Regions from separate parts of the Homo sapiens genome. Here region 1 is linked to region 2. Evidence: promoter capture Hi-C in 16 types of primary human blood cells and fetal thymus (Javierre and others, 2016). All regions are on one chromosome and are shown on one strand. The core of a region is centred on a gene start or on the middle of the fragment in contact, and the rest is flanking DNA. Distances in the headings are between cores, read along the strand shown.

Region 1 (5,072 bases), core at 226-2,725, 260 kb after region 2:
AGGTCATGTATATAATAAAAGTGTCATTTATAATTAGTGGGGAATAGAAAGTAGGCTGAATATGTGATGTCAGAATATTTGGATATCCATGTTAAAAAAAATTCTAGATACCTACCTCTCACCATATACAAAATTAAACTTCAGTTTTAGGTAATATGTTTTTTTGCCACAATAAAAAGAAATAAATATGGGGGAATAAAGTAAAGTTCAGGTCAACTAAAGCTTTATGTACATTTCTTTTTAAAACTGTACTGGGACAAATTATAGAAGAATATTTTTGTAATCTTCAATTTGATAAGACCTTCTTAAACAAAACACAGAACCCAAAATCATATAGGAAGATATTTATAGATTTGACTATATAAAAATGAAAATTACTTGATAGGTGATAATATTTAAATGTTTTAAAATATAGGGAAATAACTTAGAAAAATACTTAAACCTATATAATAGACAATGACTTGTTAGCATAATATAGAAGTATGACTACAAATCAATTTTAAAAAGGCAAACAACTGATAAGAATAATAAATGACAAGAACAGTCAGTTCACAGAAAAAAACTTATAAATGCCAGTAGTCAGTTCACAGAAAAAAACTTATAAATGCCAGTAAACAAATGAAAACACCTCACTACTAATCAGAGAAATGTAGATTAAAATAATTGCAAAATATCTTTGATGCTTTGGCAACATTATGAGGAAATAGGCATTTTCATCTCATATAAATTGCTGCAGCCTTTTTGGATATCTGTTTATAATATCTAACTATATTTTAAATATGCATATCTTTTGACCTACCAATTCTACTTCTAAAACTTTCATGCATTTGCACCAAGGTATATATGCAAGGATGTTCTGTAATTGTGTGTAACAGTAGAGAATTAGAGACATCTGAACAGTGCTACTTGTAGAGCCAATCCATGACAATATGCAGATAACATCAGAATGTTAATCATTGTATCACTTCTTTCCTGTAGTCTTGCTAGGAAAAAAGTCAGCTGAACTAAATAGTAGTGTGCTTAGTGATACAGTGAATTTATATTCCGGTTAAGCTCCACATTATCCGCATGTGCCCTAGAAATAAGTCGTGTGTGGTCCCTGGACTGTACTTCTAAAAGATGCACACAGAAATAATGTGCAAACAGAGAAATACTTGAAAGGGAACTCAAATAACCTTAACTGCTGTCTTGGGATTTGGGGTAATGGTTTGATGAATTTTCTTTTTAAATGTTTTAATTGATTCAGTCACTTAAAAATCTAAAATGCTGCATTCTGAAATAACATTTTCATCTTTTTCATTTGTTACTACTACTGATAATTTATTGGCTTTTTAAGTGCTAATTTTTCTTGTAGTTATCTCCGACGAGGTGAAAGTCATTGGTGGATGAAGGGCTCAACCCCTACCCAGATCTCAGAGATCATCATTAAACTTATCAAGGATATGGCAGCAGTAAGTTCCCATTCTTCTGTTTTGGCAGTGAAGTGCGGCAGGAAGCTGACACAAAACAGCTTACTCTGCTGAATTGATAGGAGATGTAGATTAGTGTAACTTTACTTAAAGACTATTTGTAGTATGTTAACTATCATGCTGTTTGTCTTTTCAGTGAGTGATAATTTGTCATTTATGTAAACCATGTTCATTTCAAATTTTCCAGTTAATTTGTGTGGGAATTGTTACGTGACTTTAAAATCTAATAAAATAAAATATGCTCTTTCAGACCCTAAGAAAGAACTTGATTCAAAAAACCTAAAGGAAAAAAAGAGGAAGAGAGCTCTCGAAAGTGGAAGTTTCTCATTCTCCTCAGTCCTCATGGTTTTTAAACCCTTTATTCTTCTTTATTAATGTCATATACCCTCTGTCTTAAGATGGTGGCTTCCAAAGGAGATCTGGGAGTGTGGAGGACAGGGAGTTACTTTACAGAATGCCTGGCTCTGATTAGTTGCTCCTTGTCATTTTCCACACATTGTATTATTTCTAGGAGGGCAGCCTGAGAAGGACAAGATAGTATGGAATGTAGAGTCAGAAGGAATAGAAGGCAGCTTGGAGAAGGAGGAGGAATTGAACTGCCCCTTAAATCATGTGGATATGAGAAGTGGGAGGATTTTCTGGGGGAAAGATGAAGTTCTATCACTTTTCCCAACAGCGTGGATATTTTCTCAACCTCTGTGGCAAACAGACTTTCTCAGGGTGTTCATTGAATTAAAATATTTAGGAGTAATATTTAGGAACACCTAAATTATATGATAGTTAAATGTTTGTTCATTACAAATCAAGGTAGCAAATAAAGGTAGTTGCAGTTTGAACCTGTTTATATTTTAGGTTCCTGTAATACTCATCTAAAGCAGTTAGCTTCACTGTGTAAATTTTATGCTAAGTGACAAACTTCTCAAACATAGATAACCTTAGTATTTCTGTTATGTTTTTATCAGATGTGAGAGTAATTGCCCTTGATTTCCAGGAAAAGAGTATTGAGAACTTAATTTTTTATTTATTTATTTTTAAATATCAAAATGATGATTAGAAGTTGAATTTTCCATAGGATCACGAAGAAATTTTAGTTCAAAAGTTTGTGCCCATAATCTAAAATTCCATGGTCTCACTAAAAACAAATATTTCCTTTGATAGGAGATGTTATTTAAGAAAAAAGAGTTTACTATGGTAATACATTTCTGGTCACTTATTAAAATACTCTGTTCTGCTCAATAGGGTCATCTGTCAGAAGCTTGGTCCCGAGTGACAAAAAATGCTATTGCAGAAACCATCATTGCCTTGACCAAGATGGAAGAAGAATTTAGGTCTCCAGTGAGATGTATTGCAACAACTAGAGTAGGTTTTGCTTTGTTTTGTTTTGTTTTAAATTTGGTGTGTATCATTGCGTGTTCTTTTTTAGTAATAGATTTAAACAAATTTTAATCACTAAGTCAACATAATTATTTTTTAACCAAATACCGTATTTATTGAAAAAGTATAAAGGGCTTTTATATTATGAACTAGTCGTTACTTCTCACTGTTATGTGTTCTGTGTCACTTGTTTTTGTTATTGTTTAGGAAGCCAAGGGTACACTGGTTAGAAAAGGCTAATTACATTGTACATTGTTTGCGTGTTGTCTTTCTAATGATCTGTTTGCTGTAGTTTACCACAGTAAGTTTAGTGCCAGCATTATGCTGTGATAGACCGAAGGTCCTTTGGAGACAAGACCCCTGCCTATGCCTGGTTGTTCCTAATGTAGAGCCCTGTAACTTACTTACAGGATTTATAGGTCTTACTTCTAAAAAGCAAGAAGTGCTTGTCCAGGGCAGGGTCAGGGTGGAAATCTTTGAGGAAATGAGATTGCATTCTTCAGATGACACATTTATAGTAAGTTTTAACCTGCTAGATTTCATGTCCCATATACTTCCAGAAGAGATTTGAGATTTCCTTGAAGGAGGGCAGTCTGACAACGTTAGGAAGAAGTGAATGCTGGTAAAAATTGCTTAGGTTAATCCTCAGAAATCTGAAGAAGATAAACTATATATCCCTAGGGCGGAAAAAGTCAATTTATGCTATCTTGCTATTATTGACTGTGACACCTGAAATAGGTATTTTTGACAGTAATCCTTTCCTACCACTCATGTGTTGCTTTCTTTCAGTCTGCATTCCCCTTCCTCCTTGCATGCATTATTTCTTTTTCTATTTTTCTGTCCCTATTTTAACATCTCTTGCTTTCTGTATCCAATAACACTCACATGCACTTCTTAGAGTTGAGCTAGTTAAGTCATTTTCTATTCTTCATTAATGAGGGGATATATCATTCTATATAAAACTGAAGCTTACCCTTTAAGCCTCAGAAATTTTTAACTATTTCTGAAAACAGTTGTCTTTTTTTTTTTTTTTTTTTTTTTGAGACAGAGTTTCACTCTTGATGCCCAGGCTGGAGTGCAATGGTACGATCTTGGCTCACTGCAGCCTCCGCCTGCAGGTACAAGCGATTCTCCTGTCTCAGCCTCCCAAGTAGCTCGGATTACAGGCATATACCACCACACCTGGCTAATTTTTTTTGTATTTAGTAAAGACTGGGTTTCACCATGTTAGTCAGGCTGGTCATAACCCCCTGACCTCAGGTGATCCACCCACCTTGGCCTCCCAAAGTGCTGGGATTACAGGCATGTGCCACTGTGCCCGGCCCTATTTTGGAGAACAGTTTTCTAAAGCTTTTAGACATGTATGTATTTCTGACAAAGTGCACCAAGTATAGTATTAGGCTTTCTGGGGCAACAAGGGGCAACAAAGACTTCTGAGGAACTTTTATTATCTAGAAGGATTTAATGTGTACCTGACTACTCATGGGACTGTACACAATTTAGCAGTTGCTGTACCACCTTCTTTGGCATTTAATGATACTAAATGGAAAAATATTCAGAAGACATTAGTAGTAAATATTAAATATGCCAATTCATTTATTCATATGTTGTTTACATAGTAGACCAATAAAGGATAATTTTATTTGTCAGATAGAAGACAGGGTGGTTCATCAGAGAAACAGTCACTTGTTCAGTAGATATCTGAGTGCCTCCTGTGTGCATGGCACATAGGACAGTGATCGTGTATGCCTGCTACCACATCAGGAAGACTTGAGTGCCACTGAGTATCTATGTATTTTCAAAATCAGCCAGCATTTATTGAGCTGTTGTGATGTGTCACAGTCAGCATTTCATAAGTCTTTCCTAAAAATTCAGTGGTGTAACAGCCTTCCCTTTCAACAGCTCTGGCTTGCTCTCGCATCCCTATGTGTTCTTGATCAGGACCACGTAGATCGTCTCTCCTCGGGGAGATGGATGGGAAAGGATGGACAACAAAAACAAATGGTAAGATCAGAATTTTGTAAGAATTTATCTTGCTTTCCTTTACAGTAAGCTTTAGCTTAGCTTAAAAACAAACAAACAAACAAAAAACACATCAACATAAACAGTTAGTGGATCTCTTGAAAGATTGTGTCCCTTCGGCCAAGTTCATCTCACAAGTCTATTTCAGAGAGTCCCTACTTCATAGTATATGGAAACTTTAGGGGCTTTTATTTAAGTATATTAAAG
Region 2 (5,238 bases), core at 1,915-4,414:
AATCGTTAAAGATGAGAGTAGGAAAAATGTAAATGTGATAAGAGTTCAAAAAACTGTGGTCCAGGTTTGCAATGTTAAGTGGAAAAGAACGACTAAATCTGTGATCACAAGGGGAAAGATGAAGCCATAGTCTTATTACATGGGCACAGGACAGAGAGATCTCTTTTGCGAAATGAGCATACCAACCACAAAGAATAAAACATACTACGCCCGTAATAAAATGGGCACAGGCAGGATTTGCCGTAGTTCAATGCTATTCTTTGAGGGCGAATGTGTCGTGGGTGAACTGCTGTCTAGCCCATTCCGACACCCAAGCCGCCCAGGCGGCCCCCACGCCCCCCGGCTGCAGCCCTCCCTGTACACACAAATGCACACACGCCCAGCCCGGCCGCTGGAGGAACTAAGATGGCAGCGCAGAAAGCACGGGGGCCGAGCTCGGTGGGGTGGGGAAAGAAAAGCAAAGCCCTCTGTGTTTTTTCATTCTGTATAGGTCCCCCTCTTTCCCCAAACACAAGGGCTGCGTAAGGCATTCGGTAGTAGAGCTCGCAGGAGCGGCGGGAGGGGACGCTTGCTTTGCATACTGCCAGAAACCCACGTCTCCGATCTGCAGCGACGGTTCAGGCGACCCTCGCGACTTGTGACCACACTCTCCTTCACGTCCCCTTGACAGTAGAAGTAAGGGTGACTCCAAATGCCTTTTTCTTTCTGGCATGCGCCCCACTCCCCCGCCATCCCAGGGGAGCCTTCCAAGTTGCCCAGCTGCCAAGGCGGTAGCTGTGGCAGTTGCAGGGACCGGGGAGCGCGCCGTGCGGAGGCAGGAAGAGGAGGAGGAGGAGAAAAAACGCTGCACTGGCTATCAATTTTGAGGAGAGCGACCGCTGCCGCTGCCGTGGAAGGAAACGCTGCCAACCGCAACAGAAATGCCACTCTCGGATACCTAAGTGAGCATGTGTGCGACTCTGCGCACGCCTAGTTGCGCAGCTCAATGACATCGGGCTTCTTAGCAAGTTATCCAGTTTCCGGGTTTTGAGTGTACCCATCAGGCTCCGTAGGGGCCTGTCTGGGACTGAACAGCAGTAAAGATTGAAGCGAAATTAATGAATGGTGGGAAGAGCCCGGAGACCAGGGCAGCCACGCGGGTCAATGTCCACTAGAAACTCTAAATGGGCAGTGACTGCACATTCCACCACCTGAGCCTGCGCTGTAAATGTTTTCTGTGCAAGCAACATTCATTCATTCAGCCAACATCTATTTCCCTCCTGTTCAGGGCTAGACCCTGTGCTAGGAGCCTGTGATGGTTGAACAGACACCATTGCTACCCTACGGAAAACCTAGTGTTTTGTTTAGTATGTGCTACCATTTGTGAAAATTCATGTGCCAAGTTGGACATCCTAGATCCTTTAAGTCCTCCCTCAATCTCATGTAGTGGGTATTCTTTTGAGCATTATTCAGAGGAGATAATTTGCCCAAAGCCAGACAAGTATTAAGTAGCAGAGTCAGGATCCAATTCCAGGGCTGTCTGATTTCAGAGCCTTTTAGCTACCCTGCTAGGTCTTGCAATAGTAATGGGCCCTCTCATTGCTTACCTGTCAGGCCTTAGAATTCTTAGAATTTAGCTGCCTCTACACCATTGTCTTGGTTCTCACTCCAGGGTTAGGGGCTGCCTGGTCAACACTGAGGTCTTTAACTGTGCTGAAGCATTAGGATAGAAATTTAGTCTAATAAATACTTACTGGATACCTACTACATGCAAAGTCCTGAAGTGGCTGAAGGAGACACAAAAGCAGCAAGCTCTGAAGGAACTTAGGTAAGGAAACAAGACAAATACAAAAACTTAACAGGGCTAATTACAGTACTAAAATACTATGATTCCACATGTCTTGTCCTTTGTTCCTATGTTTATCCCACTGCTAATTATCTTTAAAAAAACTAAATGAAATCCATCCATTATTTAAAGCTTCAGAAAAAAATGCATTGCTTTCAGCAACCTTCCACCCTAAAACTAGAATTAATTTACTTTCCTATTCCTTGTTGTTTGCACTTCTCAAACACTAAGGAGGATTTTTTAACATTTATTTTATTTTTTTTTAAGAGAAGGCCATCCGAAGAAGAGGCACAGATATAAGAACTAGTACATAGATGAAAGATACAGTACTGGGATGACAGAACTTATAAATTATTTTGTCAGGACTGTAAATTAGGAAACTCTTCAAATTGAGAGTCAAAGGATAAAACGTAGTAGGAATCAAAGTGCATTGGCACGTATATTTCTAGAGCATATACTTAGATGGGGTTCGTAGGTTAGCTTGGAACAAAGGACTGAGCAAATGTTACTTTTTTATAGACAACAACAAGATATGTGATGGATCTGACATTTTCAGACGCTATACAGTCTCCGTCACAATTATTGTTTCAGATCGCATTCAAGAATTATCTTTAAAAATGTAAGTTTGGGCAGAAAAAAATAAACCATTAAATGACCACTGCCAAGAGATAAAAGTGCACTCTTAGGTGAGTGAGGAGTCAATAAAAAAGAGTAATTTAAAAAATATTATTGCTCCGTTGAGAACAAGAATTTGGGAATGACTCTGGCTTGTGAATACTAGCCTATCTGTTATACTTTCACACACAAAATACTTTCACACACAAAAAAGAATGTGCTAGATTACTACCTGTCTTTGTAAGTAAAAGCTGTGTTAAACAAGCGTAAATCCTAATGACAAAAACCATATAAAATAAGATCGCTAAAGGCACTTCTAATTGGGATGGTTTTCTCTGCCTTAAACTCTGAATTAACCAGCACAATTCACAGTAAATCTTCCTGTTGGCAGCAGAGCCTTGGAGAAGAGGTAGCAGAAGAGCGTGCCACTCCTCCTCTGGCGATGGGCACGTTCCCCCTTGCTTTCTGGTCCTCGTTCTTCCACCTGGAGGGAACCTGAAGTCGAACGTCAGTAGCTGACAGCCTCCCCAGCACTTTCCTTACTCTTCTTCAAGCTGCCAGTAAAACCCGGAGAAGTGGACTACTTCAGATTCCGCACAACCCAACAGCCCCAAACCCAAAGCCCCGAGGCGGAGGGAGTGGTGGCGGAGAGGGGGTGGGGAGGAAAAGGGGCGGCAGTTACTGAGCATGTGCGAGGAGTGGCGCATGCTCTGTGAGGCCGGCAGCTTCCCATTGCGGGTAGCCCCGGCGGTGGTGGCGGTGGTAGCGGTGGTGGCGGCGGCAGTGGCGGCACCGCCTCCTCCTCACATTCCCGGGGTGGCGGGGTTAGATGAGCGGCCCCAGTAGCGGCGAGGGCGGCGCGGGGGGGAGGAGGAGAAGAAGGAGGAGGAGAAGGAGGTCGCTGTCTTTGTAGTCTCCCTGCTGCGGGAGCCAGAGGCCGCCGCCGGAGCCGTCGTCGTTGGAAAAGGGCTGTGTGTGCGCGCGCGTGTCTGCCCGCCCGGCCCGCGGGGACGAGGCGGCGGCGGCGGCGGCGGCGGCGAGGATGATGATGTGCGCAGCGACTGCCTCCCCCGCCGCCGCCTCCTCGGGGCTCGGCGGGGACGGATTCTACCCAGCCGCCACCTTCTCTTCCTCCCCGGCGCCGGGGGCGCTGTTCATGCCGGTTCCCGACGGCTCCGTGGCTGCTGCGGGGCTGGGGCTGGGGCTACCCGCCGCGGACTCCCGGGGTCACTACCAGCTGCTGCTGTCAGGCCGGGCCCTGGCCGACCGCTACCGGAGGATTTATACCGCTGCGCTCAATGACAGGGACCAGGGGGGCGGCAGCGCTGGACACCCAGCCTCCAGGTGCGTCCCCAGGGTGCCCTTCCTTGCGCCCCATGCCGCCCTTCCTTGCGCCCCATGCCGCGCGTGCACCCGCGTGTGTGTGTGCTTGCGTGTGTGTACCTGCGCATTTATTGAGCTTTCAGTCCGCTCTGGATGTCTGTTGGCAGGAGCACTTATCGAGATAGGAGGGTGCGGTGGCTGCAGTTTCTCGTGTGTGTGTGTGTGTGTGTGTGTGTGTGTGTGTGTGTGTGTGTCTGCCTGCCTATGTGGGGGGATAGTGAGGGGTGGTAGGGGAACCTGTGATGCTGGAAAAGGCGATGGTGCTGGTCGGCTGTGACACGTGTGTGTATCGTTGAGGTAGGAGGTGGCATGGGTAGAGAGGGTAAGAGGATGATACACGAAGAGAATTGCAACAGTGGCAAGGGAAGTGGCGTTTTCAGTGTCTCTGCCGCAATGTTATTTGCACGTGCCGCCTCTCCCATGACATTCCTTCCAGCCCTTTCCACCTCCCTTCAATCTGCCTTTCACCAAGAGGAGTCATGGTATAGATTGGTTGAGTTTTGGATAAGCAGGCCCGAGGGATAGGCGTGAGGTTTGCTTTAAAAAGATTTATGAATAAGGGACGCAGATGGAGATCTGTGTGGATGCGAAAGGTGTCTGATAGAGATTTTTAGAGCTGTACTTTGATAACCGGGCCTTTTGGTCTTCTAGAAATGAGGTTGCAGTTACTCTTGTGATCTGATGTCCCATCGGCCATTTCTCTTCATCCTCTGTTCGATTTCCTCTGTTACTTACAGGCTTTAGAGTAGAGAGGGTTTTGTAGGGAAAAGGGGAAAACTGCAGAACTTCAGAATATGACAGCTGGTACAGCGTTCAACTGCCACTAGCTAGAAAATCTGAATAGCGCGTAGATTTGTCTCTTTTACTTGGGTTGGCTACACCTTCAGCTTCCTTGATGTAGATGTTCAGTTGGTTTCATTTTCTTTTTCTTAAAATGTGGGTGCTTTTTTTTGCTGAGGGCTCTCCTATTGTTTTCTTTTCCATGCCCTTACATGCCGCATACCCTGAAGGTTGGTGACTGACTTGTTTCACCAGCTTTGACAGTGGTAATTGGGAGTTGGCTTCATCTTTTTTTTCCCACAGCTTCTTGCAGTACATGGGGAAAACATAGTAGGAAACTGTCAAAATGAGTTAAAGAGTTTACTGTTATTTATTGAATGTGCAATTTATTAGGCAATTGTTAGGTGTCTTTTTCTCCCATTATGAAAGGGACGAGGCTGTAAGTCAGGTATTTGTAGCTTATCACTAGGTATCATGGCTTATCTGTTGGAGACAGTTGTAAAGCTGGAGCTTTGTTCACACTTTTTCTAGGTTAACCAGTTTTCTCATGTCTGTGATTGTTTACAGGATTGGGCACAGCAGTAGTTTTACCATATGGATGTAAACGTGTGTAACTATTTTTTGCTATCTGAACT

Evidence for each region. Contacts are between HindIII fragments. The CHiCAGO score rates a contact against its expected background, and 5 or more counts as called.
Region 1: a fragment that was not itself captured here is called in contact with the fragment with the promoter of MYCBP2 in region 2 in 4 of 17 cell types (total B cells, naive B cells, fetal thymus and 1 more); the score reaches 8.8 in total B cells.

Annotation. Positions count from the first base shown.
Region 1 is chr13:77,062,371-77,067,442 of GRCh38, reverse strand. It overlaps MYCBP2 (MYC binding protein 2), which reads left to right. Exons shown (of 83, transcript NM_015057.5): 72 at 1,355-1,451; 73 at 2,709-2,828; 74 at 4,746-4,847. Among named protein-coding and RNA genes, the nearest start is that of MYCBP2-AS1, 11 kb to the left of the region's middle. The HindIII fragment of the contact is 2,502 bases long and covers 225-2,726 here.
Region 2 is chr13:77,325,020-77,330,257 of GRCh38, reverse strand. MYCBP2 (MYC binding protein 2) reads left to right here and starts at 3,164. Exons shown (of 83, transcript NM_015057.5): 1 at 3,164-3,784. The coding sequence starts at 3,483. It overlaps LOC127898562, which reads left to right and starts at 3,270. Exons shown (of 1, transcript NM_001414702.1): 1 at 3,270-3,353. The coding sequence starts at 3,270. The coding sequence ends at 3,353. LOC107984564 (a long non-coding RNA gene) reads right to left here and starts at 3,213. Exons shown (of 2, transcript XR_001749930.2): 1 at 3,123-3,213; 2 at 2,060-2,994. RefSeq lists enhancers at 584-663, 2,685-3,014, 4,685-4,864 and silencers at 3,205-3,584, 3,625-3,744. The HindIII fragment of the contact is 13,146 bases long and covers 1,960-5,238 here.